2 separate regions of the Homo sapiens genome follow, and region 1 is linked to region 2. The links are contacts of gene promoters, found by promoter capture Hi-C in human tissues and cell types (Jung and others, 2019). All regions are on one chromosome and are shown on one strand. The core of a region is centred on a gene start or on the middle of the fragment in contact, and the rest is flanking DNA. Distances in the headings are between cores, read along the strand shown. Region 1 has its middle 5.6 kb from the start of NKX2-8. Region 2 holds the start of PAX9 (paired box 9).

Region 1 (4,613 bases), core at 325-2,824, 73 kb after region 2:
CTGCCTATTGACATTAAGGGATGTGCCCCCACCTTCCCTTTGTTCCATCCTCGATTTAAGAGACATTTGTTCTCACTGGCTTTTAACTGATTTTCAATCTGTGTTCATTGCTGGGGTAAGTTAACTTTTAAAAAAATTCGACTTGCAAAGTGTTTCTGTGCTGCCCAATTAGCATTGTAACAGATGAAGCTGTTTGGAAACAAATACAACTTAGACCAGATAAAGCCACACTGCTAGTCACTGAGATGCTGGAAAAACAAAACAAAACAAAAACCCCCAAAATCACATACACACACACACACACACACACACACACACACACACAACCAAACAAAAAAACAAATCACAACAGGATCCCTACATATCAGACTTTGTTCCCTACATGGACTTTTAAAATGTACAGGCCTTCGGGTCCCTTAATTGGCATCTGAACAAACCACCAAGCCCTTTCTCCTCTACACTTGGTGGTGTGGTACTCCAGAGGTGATGAAACTGACTCCCTGCCACTTGCCTTCCCTTTACCATCCTCCAACTGGTAAAAGCCCTGGCTGGCTGGAGATGGGGAATCCCTAAGCTGAGACAAGCACTCACCCTCTCACTTTCTCCTCCCTTCCTCCTTCCCTTCACCCTGTCCCACCCACCTCCCTTCAGTGCAAACTACCTCAGATTCAGTTAGAGACACTTGTAGGTTTCTCCCTTCATCCCCATCCCCATGCTACCCCTTAGGGATGCTCTTGTGATCAATCAGCTGCCTGGAGAATCAGGATCTCACTCCGACTTCCCTAGGATTTGAATAATAGAAAATTTCAATAACAGAAAAACAGTGTAATTCATAAAAGGAGATATTCATGTACTTTTCCTAATGGTTCTATAAAAGAGATGACTAAAATAATTCATGGAACTTGAGTAGTTTTTTATTTTTATTACAGAAAAAACCAGAAGGTTAAATTCACCAGGGATGACCTGCTAATGATCTTGGATAACCCCTGCATTCTGGCATCTGAGCTTTCACAAAATTTATCATTATAAAATCATTTTAATAATACGTAAGAAATAGAATGTCTAACTTTAGGTACATATTTATACTTTTGATTTTCCCCGTCTAAATCGGCCTTATAGCCCAGTCCTTTCGTGTAAGAAAAATTTTTAAAAGGAAGGTTTTGTTTTGGTTTTAAAGTAGCCAAACCTAAAGAAGCAACTACAATAGAATCTGTGACCATCTATTTCTTTCTCATACTACAAACTGACTGAACATATCCTTACTCCCAGTGCCCAAGAAAAAAAACTGTGTTTTCATTATGTATAAAAATGTGCACATCCTGATGGCATAGCCATCCAAGAATATATCAGTCGAGTTTATGTAAACTGACTTGACGTGAGGAGCTGCTAATGAAAATGAGCACTGGAAACACGCTGCTCATGGGTGGATGTGTCAAGCACAGATGGTCTTCACGGTGAGTTCATGTGGACCACGAGCAGAGGAAAGCTGGAAACAGACTAGCTGGAAACCGTGGGGAAGTAACCTGGGGTTGGTTATAAATCAAATGAGAGCTTGACAAAACGTGGAATCCAAAAAATGCAATGAAAGTTTTCTGAGATGATATCTTGTTTCCTCAGGTTTGTGTTACAAAGCAAAATGTTACATTTTAAGAATAAGCCAAGGACACTTTAGGATGGAGCTTGTTAACAAAAGGAATGTGGTCAGCATAGAAACAATTATGGGGCTTTTTGTTTGTTTGTTTGTCTCACTTAATTAAAGGCCATACCCGATTAAAAAATACAAACATGTATTAGGATGAATTTATTATCTTGGGGATACTGAAGCTATCATTTAAAAATAATCTACCTAAAGCACAGTTTTACTATACTTAAGTTGTGTTAAACATGGCATATATATTTTTGTGCCAGAAAGAATTTCCTTAGATAAAGTCATTTCTTAGTTGTTTCCTAACTTAAACAAGTTCAATTTATGGGTTTTAAGATTCAGAGCAAGGCAAATAGAACAATAAATTTCTCAAGAAATTCTAAACGCCCTTCTTCATATCCTGTCGCTAAACCTAAAATGCCCAGCGTGGAGCTTTGTCGTTTATATATTTGTCTGATGGATCCAGAAGTAGTTTCCATGGTAAGCTCCCTGTGCACAAGAAGCAGGGTGAGTGGAATGTCTCCTGCCAATGAAGAACTTTTCACTGACAGTGATAAAGGCCAGGAACCTCCTTCACACAAATGATTGAAAAACAGAACACGGAGGACATTTTTATTTTGTTTTGTTTCCTTTGTGTGGTATGTGACTTCAGTGCAAATACCCATTTAATCAAGAATACAAAGACAGCCACCTTTGCTGGTTAAGGGATTTCCAGAGGCTGCAGTAAACATATATAGTTCTTTTACTCTTTTTGTGGGGAAATTCCCACAAGCAGTCATTTCTTGCTTCTGTTGTGTATTTGTGCCACCTCTTGGAAGAGGGGAAAAGATTTTTCCAAGGGAAAATTAAGAGTAAACTAGATAGGATCTAGAAAAATTTGAAGTGTTTTAAAAACTAAAGCTTATCTATTGTCGTAATTTTTAGAATTATAAAGACTTTGGGAAAGAATATAAAAGCTACTCTCAACTGGAACTTTTCCATCCATGCTTATCCTCTTTGAGTTGATGAGATCAAATTGAACCTGTAGCTTCTAAGCTAGCACATGCTGTCTTTCTCTTTCACTTTTTACTCTTTCTTTTCTAATACCTTCTATTACAATGGACTCTCTTTCTCTTATTTAGGTCCTCTTCATCCTCCCCACTGATTTCTTCAATTCTAGGGATATCTCAGTCTATCTCGCCTTTAAGTCCCTCTTTAAGTTTTCCATCTTCCAGATAATCTCTTGTGACTGAGACTAAGTGTGAATATACGTTGTAAACATTCTCAAATGTGTAAAATATGAAGTGATATTTTTATTACTACTATTGTCGACATCGATAAGAGAATTGAACATCTGATTCTTTGGCCCTTTGAAAGACTGGGATCCCTGTCTTCACGGAATATTAACAAATACTTCTCCAGAATGATTGGTTTAGTGTTTTGTTTAAATTTCTGTCAAGTAAGACAGAAATAATACCTCACTTTAATGATGGGATTCTTTTAGAATTCCAGAGATGATCTAAGAACAAAGTAAAGGTATATTTTAAAAGACCCCATTATAATGCTTGGGCAATTTAAAAAATAATAACTGGCTTGAACTGAAGTGTTGATGGTTAGTTATAAGCACGCACTATGGGTAGGCCTATGTGAGATACTGGGGCTGAGATCATCGAATATGTTCCTGGGGTCAATCTACCCTGTCAGTGTCTGCATGTAGCATTAAATATGATTTAGGGCCTGGAACTTTATTATGTAAACATCAATAAGAATTCTGTGTTATAGAAACTACATCTATATCAGTTGAGCAAAGGAGTATAACATGGTACTTTAAAAAAAAGCTTAGACAAAAATAAGAGGTTCAGCTCTGGACAAATAAGATCTGACACCCCTCCTCCAAGGTGTGTTACTATTTTTATTCTGCTAACTTACATATCATGCCATAACAGCTATCCTTATTATACCATTGTAAGGCATAAGGAAGACTAGAATATTTAATAAACTAAAATTTAAACAGTTATTTGCTGGCTTTTTAGCAAATGGTAAGGATGGATATTTAATAAAATAAGTTTATTTTTCAATTAATTGAACCATTTTACTTCTATATATTTTTTCATGTACATACTTAAATAACTAGAGAAACATATTAGGAAAGAAAAGCTTTCCCTCTAGAGATCAAGAACAGTAACAAAGTCAATGTAAAGTCATTATTTTAAGAGACTGAAGGTAGGATCATTCAAATCTTGTCATTTGGCATTAAACAATAAAATCTAAAGCCATTTCAAAAATAGACTAAATTTCCAGCCTGAAAATAATTGCTGTTTGTTCCTTGTCCTGTGTGTATATATCATCGATATAACTAAGAAAGAATCACAGCCAAGCTTGGACTACTGTGAAGCAATTGATTATTAGCCATTAGAAGGGAAATGTTTACTTGTTTTTAGAAAGAAAGGCAAAGAGATCTGATTTTAAATGATGCCTATTCCTTACATCCTATGACCAATCAAGATCATCCACTTCTTCTTGGAAGTGTCAGAACCCCATTTTCATTTTCCTTTTGCTATTTTAACCACAACAGTGATAAAGAGGGGGGAGCAGTTGCTATGAGGCAAAGAAAAATGTCCTGGCAGTTGAGGGCCCTCCATCTATCAAGGGGAATTTGCAGTGTTGCCTCTCTTCAATACTGTATAGATTTGCAGGATTTTGTGAAACACTTAACCAAAATGGAAGGATTTAAAAACGGAATGCAAGATATAGACACAATCATTTTTTTCAAAATCAAGATGCTTTAGTTTTATTTCAGAATTTTCTAGTCTTAAAATCTTAAGCACGTGGTAGTGATAATCATCTCTGGATAATACTTCTGAAAGGATGATTATTGTGGACAGCTTAAATATACTCATATATTACAGGTGCCTAAACATTAAAAACTCTTACTGGAATTGAGATATACTACATCCAATTACAAGAAAACAACTACTTAGCTAATTAA
Region 2 (4,917 bases), core at 265-2,764:
AGTAGATGTGGTTGTAGGGCAGCGCTGGCTGCGGCGTCGGCTGGTGCTGCTTGTATGAGTCGTAATGACCCTGCTGGGCCAAGTTGCCGATCTTGTTGCGCAGAATGCGGCTGATGGAGCTCACGGAGGGCACATTGTACTTGTCGCACACGCCGTCCGCCAGCAGGCGGTCCCGGATCTCCCAGGCGAAGATGCCGGGGTCTCTCTGCTTGTAGGTCCGGATGTGTTTCACCACGGTGGGGGTAGTGACCCGGGGCTTGCTGCCCCCGATGGCTCCTGGCAAGATCGAGCCCGTCTCGTTGTATCGCGCCAGGATCTTGCTGACGCAGCCGTGCGAGACCCGTAGCTGGCGGCTGATGTCACACGGTCGGATGCCCAGTTGGGCCAGTTCCACGATGCGAAGCCGGATGGCGTTGGGCAGCGGCCTCCCGTTCACGAACACTCCTCCCAGCTGGTTCACCTCCCCGAAGGCTGGCTCTGCAAAATGAACACACAGCGCGCAGGGACGCGCACCCGCTGCTTGGGACAGCTGCCTGCCACTGGGCCTCCCTACGCATCCGGGGACTGGGCGAACGCACCCGTCCCCTACTAACTACTGGGGCTGTCCCCAAACCATATGGTCCCTGAACATAGCCGAACGGCCCCAAACCGTCACTGTCCAATCGGACCCCCTCCCTCATTCCTGCCGTGCCGGAGGCCCCTACGGCCAAGTAAAGTGGTGAGATGCCGGGCCTCTCCGAGCGTTCAAAAGTCTCCCGAAGCAGGGGGAGAAATCGGTCTTGACGCCTGAACGTGCTCCTTCTCGCCTGCTCCTCACTAAAGTCCTTGAGCCGCTCCCTCTCTCCACCCATCCCATCCCCAGCGTTCCTTCTGGAGACCCGGCCAGTTAAACAAAGTCTAGGGGAAGCTAGAGGGTGTTTTATTTGTTGTTGTTTGTTTTCTTTTCTTTTCTTTTCCTGTTTTGTTTGCATGTGTGCGCGCGTGTGAAACAAAACTTGGTTTGCTACTCGGGCTGAGGGGCTCGCTGATGCCACAGCTCCCTTCTCTTAAAATCAGAAAATGGCATCAACAGCCACCCAGTAGCCAGCGTTCACATTGAACTGCTGTGCGCCGCTGACCCTTAGCGTGTTCCTACAACTTGTAGGAACACGAGCAAAGTCAATAGAGAATGTGAGCGCCTAGTGGCGCGCGCCCTCGCGCTCCCTCCCTCCCTCCCTCCCTTGCCCGCTCGCTCCCTCCCTCCCTTCCCGGCTCTGACAGAGTCCCCCGCCGCCACTCACCCATTGCTCCGAGCAGTACACCAACCCGGCCCCAGTTCCGCACTCCCAGACAGAAACTTTCCGCACCGCCTCAGTGGCCCGGCCTGTTGCTATCCCGGCCGACCGCCGGCGCCTCCGCTTCTTCCCAGGAGGAGGAGGCGAGAGGGCAAAAGGAAGAAGTAAAAGGAAGTCTGTGCCCCGATGAAAGAGGCTTGAGTTCTGCATTTCAATCTAAGCAGCAACGTGGGCTGGGCTGAGCAGGGCAGGGCGGCTCCGTCTATCACTCACTGGGGACACGCCCTAAAAGGGGCGGGTCCGAGGGCAAGCTGCATGGTGATTGGTGCGGGTCGGTGAGCGACAGCGCAGTCCAGGAAACTCCTTCCGCTGTCTCTTTCAGGCTAGCTCCCCACCTGGGTGACTAAATACAATGAAAATGGGTGTTTGACATCTTCCCAGAAGCGGCACAAAAAGACAGCAAAATCAGGCTGGTAAAATGCTGAATAAACAAATGAAAGCGTTTGGTCTGAATGTGAATGACTCGAAGGGAGAAGGGGCCCGAGGAGACCTCCTCCGGGGAACGATGGACATCTCAGAATTGAAGTTAAGGCTATAGGTGGGAGGCGGGCGCCACCGTGCACAGGGGTGAGGGAGTTGTCTTAGCAAAATCTGTCATGCGGGCCTCTGGGGACTGTCAGGAGAGGATCTGTGTCACCTGCCGATTCTACCTCACTTCAGTCCATGCCAGGTGGCGAGAGCGCAGGTGTGAGAAGATAGGCCGGCCAAAGAAACCAGGAGGTTGCGGGGAGCCCGAGCCACAGGTGGGGGCCACTGTTAAGGCCAGGGAGGTTCCTCCTACCGCCAGCTTCCTGCGGCGACCCCCCAGTCCAGGTGGACCGGCCAACCACTAGCCACACAGGCTCGAGGCACGGGCCACGCCGTGTGCGGGGAACTGAACCACAGGCGGCTAACGCTAGCGCACAGCCCCAAGTCGACCAATTGCCAGTGCGTGGGGCACTCACTACGGAGCCCAAGGCTCTGCCACATTCAGCCACTGTCCTGGGCCCCTGGCCCTCGGTGGCAGCGTTTGTGAGGGTTCTCCAAACCAGCGAGCCCTCTCGAAAGAGTTTTGTTTAAATATGAAAGAGACTTAGTCCCAAGACAGTGGACACCGACGCTGCACATGGATGTAATTCCCTCGTCTTCCATTAAGCTCCAGAGGCCCTGTCGTTCTGCCTACTTCTGAATTTTCACTTTTATTCACTGTAAGTCTAATCTAAAGTGTACCGTATGCTTTTTTGCAGCCAAAGTTATTAATATTTGCAGTTAGGGTTGTGGAGAATGTGAATCAAAATAATAAACAAGAAGAGAAATATTTTCGTGAATTTGGGAGTTTGTACTGCTTGGGGTCGTGAACTCTGTTACTGCTACTTGACAATCCAGAAGGCTCCTTGTGCACACAGGATTCAGGCTGCTTCCCCAACAGTCCCCAGGGATGTGTGTGGCTGCGGTCTACACCCAGAGAAGCTGACTGGTCCCAGATCTCAGGTCAGTAAGTTGCAAGAACCCAGGAAAAAACTATGATCAGCCATGCTTCTGCAAAGGAACAGATCTCCAGATTCCCACTTCTATGGTTAGGATGCACTCTAAATTCAAAATTACCTAACAGAATGGAGGATGTGAAAGGTAAAGATGAACTAAAACACCACTCTTTAGAATCGGAATCTTGGGGGAAATCCCACAACTAGACATACTTGAACTTGTCCCTTTTTGTTGGTTGGTTTCAAATGTTTAAAATCTTCTTGAAGTTTGACTTGATAGCAATTTCAGCCTGGTCTGACCTCCAATACCTGTTGGGTGACATCGTGTGGCACCGCCTGGCATTTTTACACAAGGAGAGCCTTCGGAAATCTAAAGATTTTAGAAGCAGCAGCTCCTTCTTAAGGCTGGTAGATAAATTAGTTGAGACTTTGCCGCATCGTAGGGGAGCTTATGACTCTGCCTTAGGCTTGCGGGAGGGAATGAACATGCCCGGCAACTTGACCAGGAAGGAATCCTCCTCCCCCCTCACAGACAGGCAGTGAGTATCGACCTCTGCGCCAAATCTGCTCTACTTCCGTGCACCCAGGGAAAATTTGCAGTCTGCAGGGCTGCTAGGCGGGTACAAGGATGTTCGCATACGAACAGGCAAGACCTCATGTCCCGCGGGGGGTCTGGGGACTCTGCGAGAGCTTTAGCAGTTCTGCAGCACCAGCCTAGACTGGTTCAGAAACTGATATGGTTTAGAGCTCTGGTTATATGGAGGTAACATACAACTCCCTCTTGTTCCTACCAACTCCTTCAGCTGCCACACATCTTCCCAGTTCTCACATAGGTTCAATGCCATCTCTCCCTTTCCACCTGCTGAACTTGGCTGTGACCATGTGGCCTCAGCTGCTGCGGATCCCCTGGGCGTGCCAGGGGTAGCAACTCAGTGGGCAGGGGGCCTGTCCGCAGCTCTGGCGGCTCCCCGCAGGCCCCACTCATGCCGGCGGTTGCAGGTACTGGGTGCTCTTGGCATTCTCAAGAGCGCAGGAAGAGTCAATTTTAGGTGTTTTGGGCCACTAAGTATCCGCGGCAAGCCGAAGACCCCGCTCTGGGAGCAAGAGAAGCCGAAGCTGCAGACAGGGTCAGCGGGATCCCAGCAGAAGAGGGTGATGCTGAAGCCTTCCCGGGGCGCGGACCGAGTGCTAGGGCGAGGTAGTCAGCGACCCGCTGAGACCGACCGAGAGACGACGGATCTGAGGCAGAGAAAGAGGATGAAGGAAGGAAAAGAGAGAACACTAAGGTCTGGTCAGTCCCGATGAATGTAAGGATGCAGGACCTAGAACAAGAACAAGGGTCAGCTGGAGTCTGCCGCCTGGTTACACTGCTCACTCTGGACTCAGAAGATCTCAAAGAGATCGGAAGAATTTCGACTAAAAGGAGAAATTTAAGACCAAAACCAAAACACCAGTAAGGCCTGCAGCTGGCTCAGGCCAGGGAGAAGCCAAAAAGCCTTTCCCTAGCCGCGTCGAGGCCTCCTCCGAGGGGCGACTCGCTCTCTGGATAAATATTTACTCAGTGGGAGACTGGAAGCCGGGCCGAGAGTGTGAAGGAGGGGGCTACACTGGGTGGGAGGAACCAGTACACTCGGCGCTGGCCGGATCCTTGTGTACACCCGCCCAAGGGGAGCAGGGGCCGGGGACTCTGGGGGCGACTCGGCCCAGGCGTGTGGCTGGGGAAGCTTTAGACCCCAGCATCGGATCGACCGGACTCCGCCCTGCCCTCGCGGACCCCAGCCAGATGCTGTGAAGTCTCCATAAATCTGTCAGCCGTCCCAGTGCCGCGGGCAGTCACCTGCGGCGCCCCCTTCCCGGCGCTAGAGCGGCCCGCGGAGAGACGCGGAGAAGCAACGGGAATCTAGCCCGGCAGACTGTACCCGAGGGCTGCCGAAGTCAGACCCAAGCACTACAGGTTGTGCGGAACGCGAGGACCCCTCCCTGTATCCCCAACCTGGACCGACCCCCGGAAGCCTGCTCCTCCGGGTCTACAGGTCAGTGATGACTGTGGATGGGAGGATAGGGCGAGAGTTGGGGGTGCGTATGCACGGGAGAGAGGTTGTTCTATTCCGAGTTGCAGT

Evidence for each region. Contacts are between HindIII fragments. The study calls those that stand out against the background at their distance.
Region 1: a fragment that was not itself captured here is called in contact with the fragment with the promoter of PAX9 in region 2 in 3 of the 25 tissues and cell types used here (H1 embryonic stem cells, mesendoderm cells and thymus).

Annotation. Positions count from the first base shown.
Region 1 is chr14:36,585,892-36,590,504 of GRCh38, reverse strand. No RefSeq gene overlaps it. Among named protein-coding and RNA genes, the nearest start is that of NKX2-8, 5.6 kb to the right of the region's middle. The HindIII fragment of the contact is 6,603 bases long and covers 1-4,613 here.
Region 2 is chr14:36,658,457-36,663,373 of GRCh38, reverse strand. It overlaps PAX9 (paired box 9), which reads right to left and starts at 1,514. Exons shown (of 4, transcript NM_001372076.1): 1 at 1,281-1,514; 2 at 1-477. The coding sequence starts at 1,284. LOC105370455 (a long non-coding RNA gene) reads left to right here and starts at 4,625. Exons shown (of 2, transcript XR_943758.3): 1 at 4,625-4,830. RefSeq lists enhancers at 1-24, 25-534, 535-1,046, a cis regulatory region at 1,811-2,323 and a promoter at 1,583-2,780. The HindIII fragment of the contact is 9,466 bases long and covers 1,430-4,917 here.